Regions from separate parts of the Homo sapiens genome. Here regions 2 and 3 are each linked to region 1. The links are contacts of gene promoters, found by promoter capture Hi-C in blood cells and fetal thymus (Javierre and others, 2016). All regions are on one chromosome and are shown on one strand. Each heading gives the region's core, a stretch centred on a gene start or on the middle of the fragment in contact. The rest is flanking DNA. Distances are from core to core; before and after follow the strand shown.

What was found. Contacts are between HindIII fragments. The CHiCAGO score rates a contact against its expected background, and 5 or more counts as called.
Region 2: a contact is called between the fragment with the promoter of SLC26A1 here and the fragment with the promoter of MAEA in region 1, in 2 of 17 cell types (M1 macrophages and M2 macrophages). The highest score is 5.8, in M1 macrophages.
Region 3: a fragment that was not itself captured here is called in contact with the fragment with the promoter of MAEA in region 1 in 1 of 17 cell types (endothelial precursors); the score reaches 5.9 in endothelial precursors.

The regions. Positions count from the first base shown.
Region 1 is chr4:1,288,631-1,291,440 of GRCh38, forward strand. MAEA (macrophage erythroblast attacher, E3 ubiquitin ligase) reads left to right here and starts at 1,261. Exons shown (of 9, transcript NM_001017405.3): 1 at 1,261-1,352. The coding sequence starts at 1,284. It overlaps LOC105374347 (a long non-coding RNA gene), which reads right to left and starts at 941. Exons shown (of 3, transcript XR_925046.3): 1 at 255-941. RefSeq lists silencers at 782-1,191, 1,292-1,571, 2,660-2,810. The HindIII fragment of the contact is 13,993 bases long and covers 1-2,501 here.
Region 2 is chr4:992,135-994,903 of GRCh38, forward strand. SLC26A1 (solute carrier family 26 member 1) reads right to left here and starts at 1,270. Exons shown (of 3, transcript NM_022042.4): 1 at 1,167-1,270. All of the region lies in intron 2 of IDUA (alpha-L-iduronidase), which reads left to right. RefSeq lists enhancers at 607-1,418, 1,419-2,230. The HindIII fragment of the contact is 37,873 bases long and covers 267-2,769 here.
Region 3 is chr4:1,637,169-1,640,173 of GRCh38, forward strand. FAM53A (family with sequence similarity 53 member A) reads right to left here. Exons shown (of 5, transcript NM_001174070.3): 5 at 2,719-3,005. Among named protein-coding and RNA genes, the nearest start is that of FAM53A, 46 kb to the right of the region's middle. The HindIII fragment of the contact is 4,008 bases long and covers 1-3,005 here.

The sequences.
Region 1 (2,810 bases), core at 11-2,510:
ACGATGCGAACCGTGAAAGGACGCAAAGAGTACAGAGTGCATGCTTCCATCTCTATAGGAAGGTCAGGAACGCTGTTACGGGGAGCAGGGTTAGAATGATGGGGATATAGCCCGGGAAGGGGCAGAGGAGCTTTCTGTGCCACGGGAAATGTCCTAAATCTCAACCAGGACACGGTTAGATAAAAGTGCAAATATGGGTGAAAATTCATTAAAGCTGTATAGTTAAGATTTGTGCACCTCACTGTAAAACTTACTTCAAATGTCTAAAAGACTGGAGTCTGCAGCCACACACTTGAGGAATAACACTTTCCTTAGTCCCAACTCCTGTTTAAGTAAGACAGAGAAAGATTCCACAGTGCGGGTCGGATGTCTTGCGGCTGTAACATGTAGCAGCCTCCAAGCGGAGGTTCTCCCTTCATCGCTGTGTCACCTTAGATGTTTTTCCTTTGTTTAAACACCAAATATTTTAAAAGTTGTTTAGAAATGTGTTATGTGAAACACAAGGTGGTTTAATTGGGACGTCATTTCCTAATTAATAAAATCTAATTTCAGTTTTATTTTGGAAAGGAGGGAGACGGGTGGTGTTTGAAAGGCTGAGAATGTGAAGTGGCTGAAATGAAGGCAGCGCACGACCTGGATGCCAGCGCTGCCCGCCCTGCAAGGAGAGGGCGGAGAGGCCACACGCTTCTCATGCTTCGGGAGTTTCTGTCCATAAATCAGTTTTAGGTACTGGGCCTTTCCTCTTCCGTTGGGAAGTCGGAGGTTCCACATCAGGATTCCAGCAGCTGTAAATCGGTCAAAATAAGGCCAAAGAAAAATAGCTGGCTACAGGCGCATGCGGCCAGGCGTTTTGTTGGCGTTGCCCTTGGTACCGCAGGCACGAGGGACCCACAGGGGACCACCCCGCGGGAGCCCCAAGTAACTGGACGGACGCCAAGTCCCCCAGCCCGCTCGGCCCCAGCTCCACCCGCCCGGGCCGCAGCCCGCACCCCATCGGCCCGCCCCGGGCCAGGAGCATCCCCAGCTCCGGCGTCTGCGGCCTGAACCCGGTAGCGAATTCAAGGTGGAAACCGCCAGCCGGGGCTATCGTTGATTGGCTGAACGAGAGGAAACCCGGCAGTGATTGGTTCGCGCCTTCTTCCGCCTCCGGCCGACTGGGCGGATACGATTGGTGCAGGGGCATCGGCCCGCCCCCATCCTGCTCCGGCCGGCGCGTGGCGTCATTTCCCGGCGTGCAGCGCGCTCGCGCGTCCCCCGCCCGCTAATGTTTTGGCCGCTTCAAGATGGCGGTGCAGGAGTCGGCGGCTCAGTTGTCCATGACCCTGAAGGTCCAGGAGTACCCGACCCTCAAGGTGGGCGCCTGCGCCGCGCAGGCTGAGGGCAGCGAAGGCGTCTCCAGCCAGTGCCCTCGGGCCGCGAGGGGCCGCCCCGGGAGGGCCAGCGGCGAGGGCGGCGGGAGCTGGGCGCGGCCTCGCGGGGCCGTGCGGGCTTCTCAGGGGCGCCCGGTCCGCGCCGGGCAGGTGTGGCGGGGGCGGCGGCTTTGGCCCTGCCAGGCGCCCGACTGTGGCCCCTCTGCTTGAAGAGCTGCGTGAGCCGAGCCAGCGACGACTCTGGCAGCGCTAAGGGTGGCGAATTTGGGGCTGGGGTGGAAGCCGGAGTTTGCGGGGCGTGGGGTCTCTGGCGCCCAGGCAGACGGAGTGCGCGGCGTGCCCAGCCAGTGCCCGGCCGCCCTCCCGGGAGCCCAGGGCTGGGAGGTGCCGGCTGCGCCGGTCGCTAGTTAGGAACTGTAGGGAGAAACCTCACGGCCTGATGGCACCCAGCGACCTTTTTGATGGGCGTCACCAAACCTGAAATACAGCTCTTGCCGTCCGGCTGCCGGTTGCGTGACCTTGGGTGGTCACCTAGCCACGTCGCACTTCTTAGAATGAAATTTGTGCTCCTAGTAGAAGGAGCCGATACTTGTTCTTTACCTAGTTAGTAGAGGATTTGATATGAAGCACCTGGGAAGGAATTCCTTAAAAGATCAAGGTCATAGCTTTCCTAGAGCTGCGGCTGAGCTTCGTGGTTCTGTGTTGCCTTCCTGGAGAGCTGCGTAGTTTCTCTCTCCTCCCAGAGCGCCCTGGTGTTCACGTCCGTCTGAGGACGGACGGTGTGGCGACAGGTGTGGAGGATGCAGTATGGCCAGGTTGCTGTGCGTTCCCCCAGCCCCAGGGCAGTTCAGCGAAGGGCTGAAGAGCACAGGCTGTGAGCCATCCTGCTGGGGTGTGAATCAGGCTTCTCTGTATTCGTCCTTACTGGGAGACATCAGGGCCCGGTTGGTGACTGTTTATTCTTGTCAGGTTTAAGCAGTGGTAGCGCCTGTGTCACCTCAGGGTGAAATGAGTGACCACGTATTGTTTCAAACAGTGCCTAGCATTCATTAAAAGGTCCCTGCTACAGTTAGCGCTGCTGAAGTCAGGCTGTACCCTGCTGTAGCTGGTCTTCATAGGAAAGCAGAAGCAAGCTTCTCCTCCTCTTTATTAACTAGCGGTTTATTTCATATTTTTAAAAAGAAACGGGGTTTCACTGTTGCCTAGGGTGGTTTTGGATTCCAGGACTTAAGCGATCCTCCTGCCTTTTGACCTCCCAAAGCGCTGGGCTGACAGGTGTGAGCCACGCGCCCGCCACACTAATGGTTTCGCAGTGGGGTTTCATGGTGCTTGTGTGTCCAGCACTTCTTTTGATCAAGGAAGGGAGGGCAATGTTGCTGACGTTACCAAAGGTCTAGCCTCTTGCTAGATCCCTCCAAGATGTAGGTGGTTGGTTTTTAA
Region 2 (2,769 bases), core at 20-2,519, 300 kb before region 1:
GCACATGTGCCTACCGTCAGAATGTCACAGTCACTGGACACAGGTGCAGGCAAGCCTGAGTCCAGCTGCTCCGTGTCCACCTCCCTGGCTCCCCAGGTTGGCAAACGGTCCTGCTGTCCACCCCATGCCCACACCAGAGCCCTCCCTCCCCCATCCAAACCATCGCCTGCTCTCCTGGAGACACCTCCACCCACCCCTCTGTCACCTGCCCTGTGGGTCCTGGGGCTGGCGGAAGTCTCAGGAAGAGGCCTCCTATGTCCCTGCCAAGCTTTGTGGGTACTGGGACCCCAAGTCTGCTGGGGGAGCAGCACTCAGACACTAGCCTAGCCCATCCGCCTGGACTTGGGACAGAATTCTGAGAATATGCCTGGACGGGGGCCCCATCAGGGCCAGCTGGGAGGGGAGGAGGGTGACTGGCGTCTGTCTCCCCTGCCCAGACAGTTCTGGGACGTGAGGCGCCCTTTTTCCCAGGCTGCACCAGCTCACTGTGGAACGGCCATGACACACTGTCCCGAGGCAGCACCGAGAGGGCCCAGCCCGCTGCACACAGTCACCCTGGGCCGGCAGAGCCGGAAGGGCACCTGACCTTTCCCTTGATCTCGGAAAACACCGTGGCGTTAGGGAGGCGGTGCTTAGAGGCCTGACTGGTCCCACGTGAGGCCTCGGGTCTGTCCTGTTTGCAGACTCCAATGTACTTTCACTTTAAACATTCTTCTCAGCGACGTTAGGCAAAGACTTTGCTCCCAGGACACCAGGTGCCCAGGACACCCTGGAGCCTGGGCTGAGCCTGCTGTTTGCACGCTGGCCCAGGGTGTGCGAGCTCCAGTCTCCTGGCGGGTGTGTTGGGGCAGTGAGCCCAGCCTGGTAGGTTGACACATGCAGGCTGGGCACAGCACCCCTGGGGCACAGAGCGGGGGTCCTGGCCCTCAGGCAACATTGCAAGAGTTGTGTCCCCTTCCCTGGAAGACCCCACCACACTGGGTCCCTGGATGCCCTGAAGCCCACCCCAAGCCCCTGGGGTCCAGGTGTGTGGAATGGGGACAGTAGGGCCACCTGCCTTGAGCCTGAGGGTGCCCCTAAGAAACCACGAGTCCAGGGCATTTCTGGCCTCGGCTCCCACGCCCCCCTCTGCTGCAGCTGAGATCTGGGCCCAGGATGGTTCTTACCTGAGGGAGTCCTCACAGGCGCGGAGGGCCCTGGGATGACGAGGGGCTGGCAAGACCACCGAGGACCGCAGGGCCCTCTGGCTCCCGCGAGCAGCGGGGAGAGTGGGGGTGGTGGCGCCAACCTGCAGGCAGTGGTCTGTGCCCTGGACTCTGTAGTTCAATTATTTACCTACAGATTGCTGAGTCATGGGTTTCTCCAGCCATGTTACCTGATCGGCTGATCCGGGAGTTGAACTGTAATCAGGGGCTTGTAGGAGTTAGAGCTGTGTGGGCCTCTGAGGAGCTCCCAGCCTCCCAGGAGCCGCTGCAGCTGTGGCTCTGCGGCCCTGCCGGGGGGGCTTAGGGACCAGCGGGAGGCGGGGGCTCAGGGGCTGAGCACAGGTAAACCTTCAGCTCTGGGGTCTGGGGTCGAGTGCAGCAGCCTTCAAACCCAGGCGGGGCTGAGGGAGGCTTGGTCTCCGTGTCCAGTCGCCGGACACCCTCCTGGTCCTGCAAGGAGCCAGCCTGGTCCAAGCTGGAGCAGGGCAGAGGCTGACAGCCGGCTCAGCCCAAGGCTGCCGGTGCGTGCATATGCGTGTGTGCTCGCGTAAGCCCTGTGTGTGGTGCTCACCGCCCAGGGCGAGGACTGCCGGGGTCAAGGTGCCGTGACTGGCCAGGAGTCCTGGTCTGACTGGACCCAGCACCGACCCACAGCGCCTGGTCACCCTCACGGCTCCTCTGCCCTCCCCTCTACCACAGACCAGGACCGGCAGTGCCTGCCTCATAGGGCTGGGGTGAAGATAAATGATTTTTTTAAGTGAACTAAATTAGGCCCACACGTGAAAATAAGGGTAAGCTGCTTTTTAAAAGGAATTATTAGCCAGGCACGATGGTTCACTCCTGTAATTCCAACACTTTGGGAGGCCTAGACAGGAGGATCGCTTAAGGCCAGCAGTTCAAGACCAGCCTGGTCAACATAGTGAGACGCCCCCCACCTTTTCTTTTTTTTTTTTTGAGGCGGAGTCTTGCTCTGTCACCCAGGCCGGAATGCAGTGGTGTGATCTCGGCTCACTGGAAGCTCTGCCTCCTGGGTTCACGCCATTCTCCTGCCTCAGCCTCCTGAGTAGCTGGGACTACAGGCGCCCGCCACCGCGCCCGGCTAATTTTTTTTTTTTTGAGACGGAGTTTCGCTCTGTTGCCCAGGCTGGAGTACAGTGGCATGATCTCGGCTCACTGCAAGCTCTGTCTCCCGGGTTCAAGTGATTCTCCTGCCTCAGCCTCCCGAGTAGCTGGGACTACAGGCACCCGCCACCACGCCCGGCTAATTTTTTGTATTTTTAGTAGAGACGGGGTTTCACCATGTTAGCCAGGATGGTCTTGATCTCCTGACCTCGTGATCCACCCACCTCGGCCTCCCAAAGTGCTGGGATTACAGGCTTGAGCCACTGCACCCGGCCGCCCCCTGCCCCCCAACCTTTAAAAAATTAAAAGTAAAAAATTAGCTGGGTGTGGTGGTGTGTGCCTGTATCCCAGCTACTCAAGCGGCTCAGGTGGGAGCATGGCTTGAGCCCAGGAGTTTGAGGCTGCCATGAGGTATGATTAGGCCACTGCACCCTATCCTAGG
Region 3 (3,005 bases), core at 98-2,597, 350 kb after region 1:
CCTCCGGCACCCATGCTCGGGTGGGGGGTGGGGGCGGGGATGGCCAGAGAATAGGCCCAGGATAAGGAACAAAAAGTTAGACAAGCACGGGGCCTGTGACTGCAGGGGACTGGCTGGCTCTGAGGCCCTGGCACAGAGGCTGCCACCCCACGCTGCCAGGGAGGCTCCCAGCCAGGCCGTCCCCACCTCCCCGGGTCTTCAGAGGCTCTGGGCAGGGCTGGAGGGAACGGTTGGGGGTGAGGCCAGCCCTCGAGGGACAGAGGGAGCCTGGGGGAGGATGGAGACGTATTCAGGAGAAGACATAGGTGTGGATGCTCTGGGAAGGGTGGGGAAGCCATCCCTCTCTCATCCCCATATCCCTGCCCCACCTCGCCTCAGCCTCTTCCCCTCAGGAGCCCTCCACAGGGACAGGAGCCCTGCAGTGGGGAAGGCCCCAGGAGAGGGGGAGGGCTGGGGGCAGCCCGGCAGGGGTGGGCAGGGGTGGGCAGGGGTGGGCCACTGCAGCAGTGCTGGGGGCTAGGGGCAGGGAGGGGCCTGTCTGAAGGATCCCAGCCTTGGGACTGAGGAGTGGCCTCACAGGCCCCCAGCGCAGGAAGGGAGCTGTCCCAGGGTACCAGGCACAACCCCGGCCCTCCCACCATGTCTGCCCAGCCCAGTGGATCCCACACGGGCTGACCGCTGAGGTGGGTGCCCAAAGCAGGTCCCAGGGACCCAGGGGCTGCACTGTGCCTCAGGCCCCCCATTCCTCCCATCCACCTGTCCACGGCTCTGGGGTCACCCCAGAGGGCCCTGGGACCCCCTGCCTGTGGCTAGTCGAGGAAAGACCAAGTCCAGGCCCACCGTGGGTGACACAGCTGAGCAGCCCCCACCCCACCAGAACTTCCTGCAGCTTCAGCAGCAGCCTCTCTCCATCCCCAAGGGGCCAAGCATCCACACGAGGCAGCAGGCCAACCCCCAAGGCTGCCCCCGGCCTCAGGCAGGTGACCCTGCAGGGCCAACCAAGGGACTCAAATGCCCCTGGTGAGGGTCCTGGCCCCCCATTCCAGGAAACACGCAGACACGCCCAAGGGAAAATACAGCCCTGGGGACAAGCCCCAGGGGCCGGGCTGTGAGCTCACTCGCACACACACGCCACCCTGTGCTAGGCAGACAGGGGACCCAAGGGTGCCCTGAACCTTCCGTCTCAGTCTCCCCACCCGCAGAGGACACAGCAGGTCGGCACTGCAGAAGAACCGGCTGCACTGCCCCACCGAGGGCCCCACCAACCAGACACCCTACATCAAGGGCACCGAGGGGAATGGCCCTGGGCTCGGGCCTCAGGAGGAGCCTCCAGCCCCACTCACCAGCCAGCCGGAAAGGTTCTGCCCAGGAGAGCCAGAGGTTTGGGGAAGGAGGAGATGAGGTAGGGTAGGAGGTGAGAGAGGTGGGGAAGCCCTGGGGGAAGGTGGCAAGTCCAAGGGTTGCAGGCAGGACCAGACGCTCCGTCAAGGGAAGGGGAGTGTCGGAGGGGTGGGGGGCGGCTGGTGACTGCACACGTAAACCCCAGCTCACCCCACATCCCCTCGCTCCCACACACCCAGGCCAGGCTCAGAGCTGGTGAGGGGCCCCTGGGCTGGGGTGTGAGCAGTCAGTGGCCCCCCTCCTCCTGCCTGTCCTTGAAGGGGACTCAGGTAGCGAGAGTCAGCTGGGAACTGTTCTAGACTCCAGGTAACACAGTGGACAGATCTCCCAAACCTGGGTCACCATCCAGCGGGAGGGGACGCCGGGTGGACTCAGCGTAGAGAGTGACTGCAGGGAGGGGGCGAGGCCCCACCTGCCCCTGGGGCATCCAGGCCTTGGTGGGGACCTCGGGCCCCTCTGCAGCCACAGCGACACACCCTGCCTCATCTCTGACGCCCTCCCCGACCTGCAGCAGAGGGCCCTGTGGGACCCTGGCAGGCCTGACACCACCACCATGCCAGCCCCACAGCCCTGTCTCCCATTGCTGTCCAGATTGCCATGTCCTGCAGACCAGTGGCCGGTGCCCTGGAGGCCACTCCAGCCCCACAGCCAGCCTCTGACCTGAGGGACCCTGCCCTGTACTAAGTCATCTCAGAGCACCGCCCGCCCCACCCCAAATCCCAGCACCCTGGATGACTACGCAGGTGACTGTGGCTTTTGCTAAACCACCCGGAGCTGATCTCCACAAATTTAATCCAAAACACAACCTTCCTGTGCAGTCTGGCAACTGTGTCAAAGTCCAATGCCAGGGCCCTCCCTTCCCTTCACACGAGGCCAGGGGTGGCTCTGGGGAGCAGGTGACACTCTCTTGAGCCCCTGTTCTGTCAGTCCCAGCACAGGAGCCACCCAGGGCCTGCCAACGACAGGAGGGCTCCTGACCCCGGGCCAGCACAGCAGGAGAGTAGGCACTGCCCCAACGGAGGAGGGCAGAGCCTGGCCAGGAAGGGGGATCCCACTTGCTAAGGCCCCAAACTCCCCAGCGCCATCCCCCGTCTTGCAGGGCAGAGGCAGGAGGGTCACCCGAGAGCCAGAACCCCACTTTCACCCAAGCAGCTCGGCCTCAGGAAAGCTGATCCAACAAAACCACACCACTCGCCACCTTTGCCCACCTTTGATCTGTGGCCCATGTCAGTTAAGAAAGTGGCATTGATTAACTTCAATGACCTTTCATGAATTGTATTGAGAAAAAAACAAGAAAATTTCAAAAAAGTATTAATGTTTTCTTTTGCTATCGCAAACTCGAAACCCCTACGATTTTATTAAAAGTGCAAGAATGAAAAACAGGAAATCCCTTGCCTTGTCTGGTTCTGAGCCAGAGACCAGAGGCCTGAGGCGCAGCCAGGCCCACTTCAGATGGTGGAAACGAAAATTAATCAGAAGTCGTATGCACAAAGCAAAGGCCTTGTATTAAATTCACAGAGTGGGTGCTGACGGGTGCTGCCGGCAGGACAGCCTTCCCAGAGGTCTGGCACTACACCCCACCTGAAGGTGCAAGGGCCCTCCCA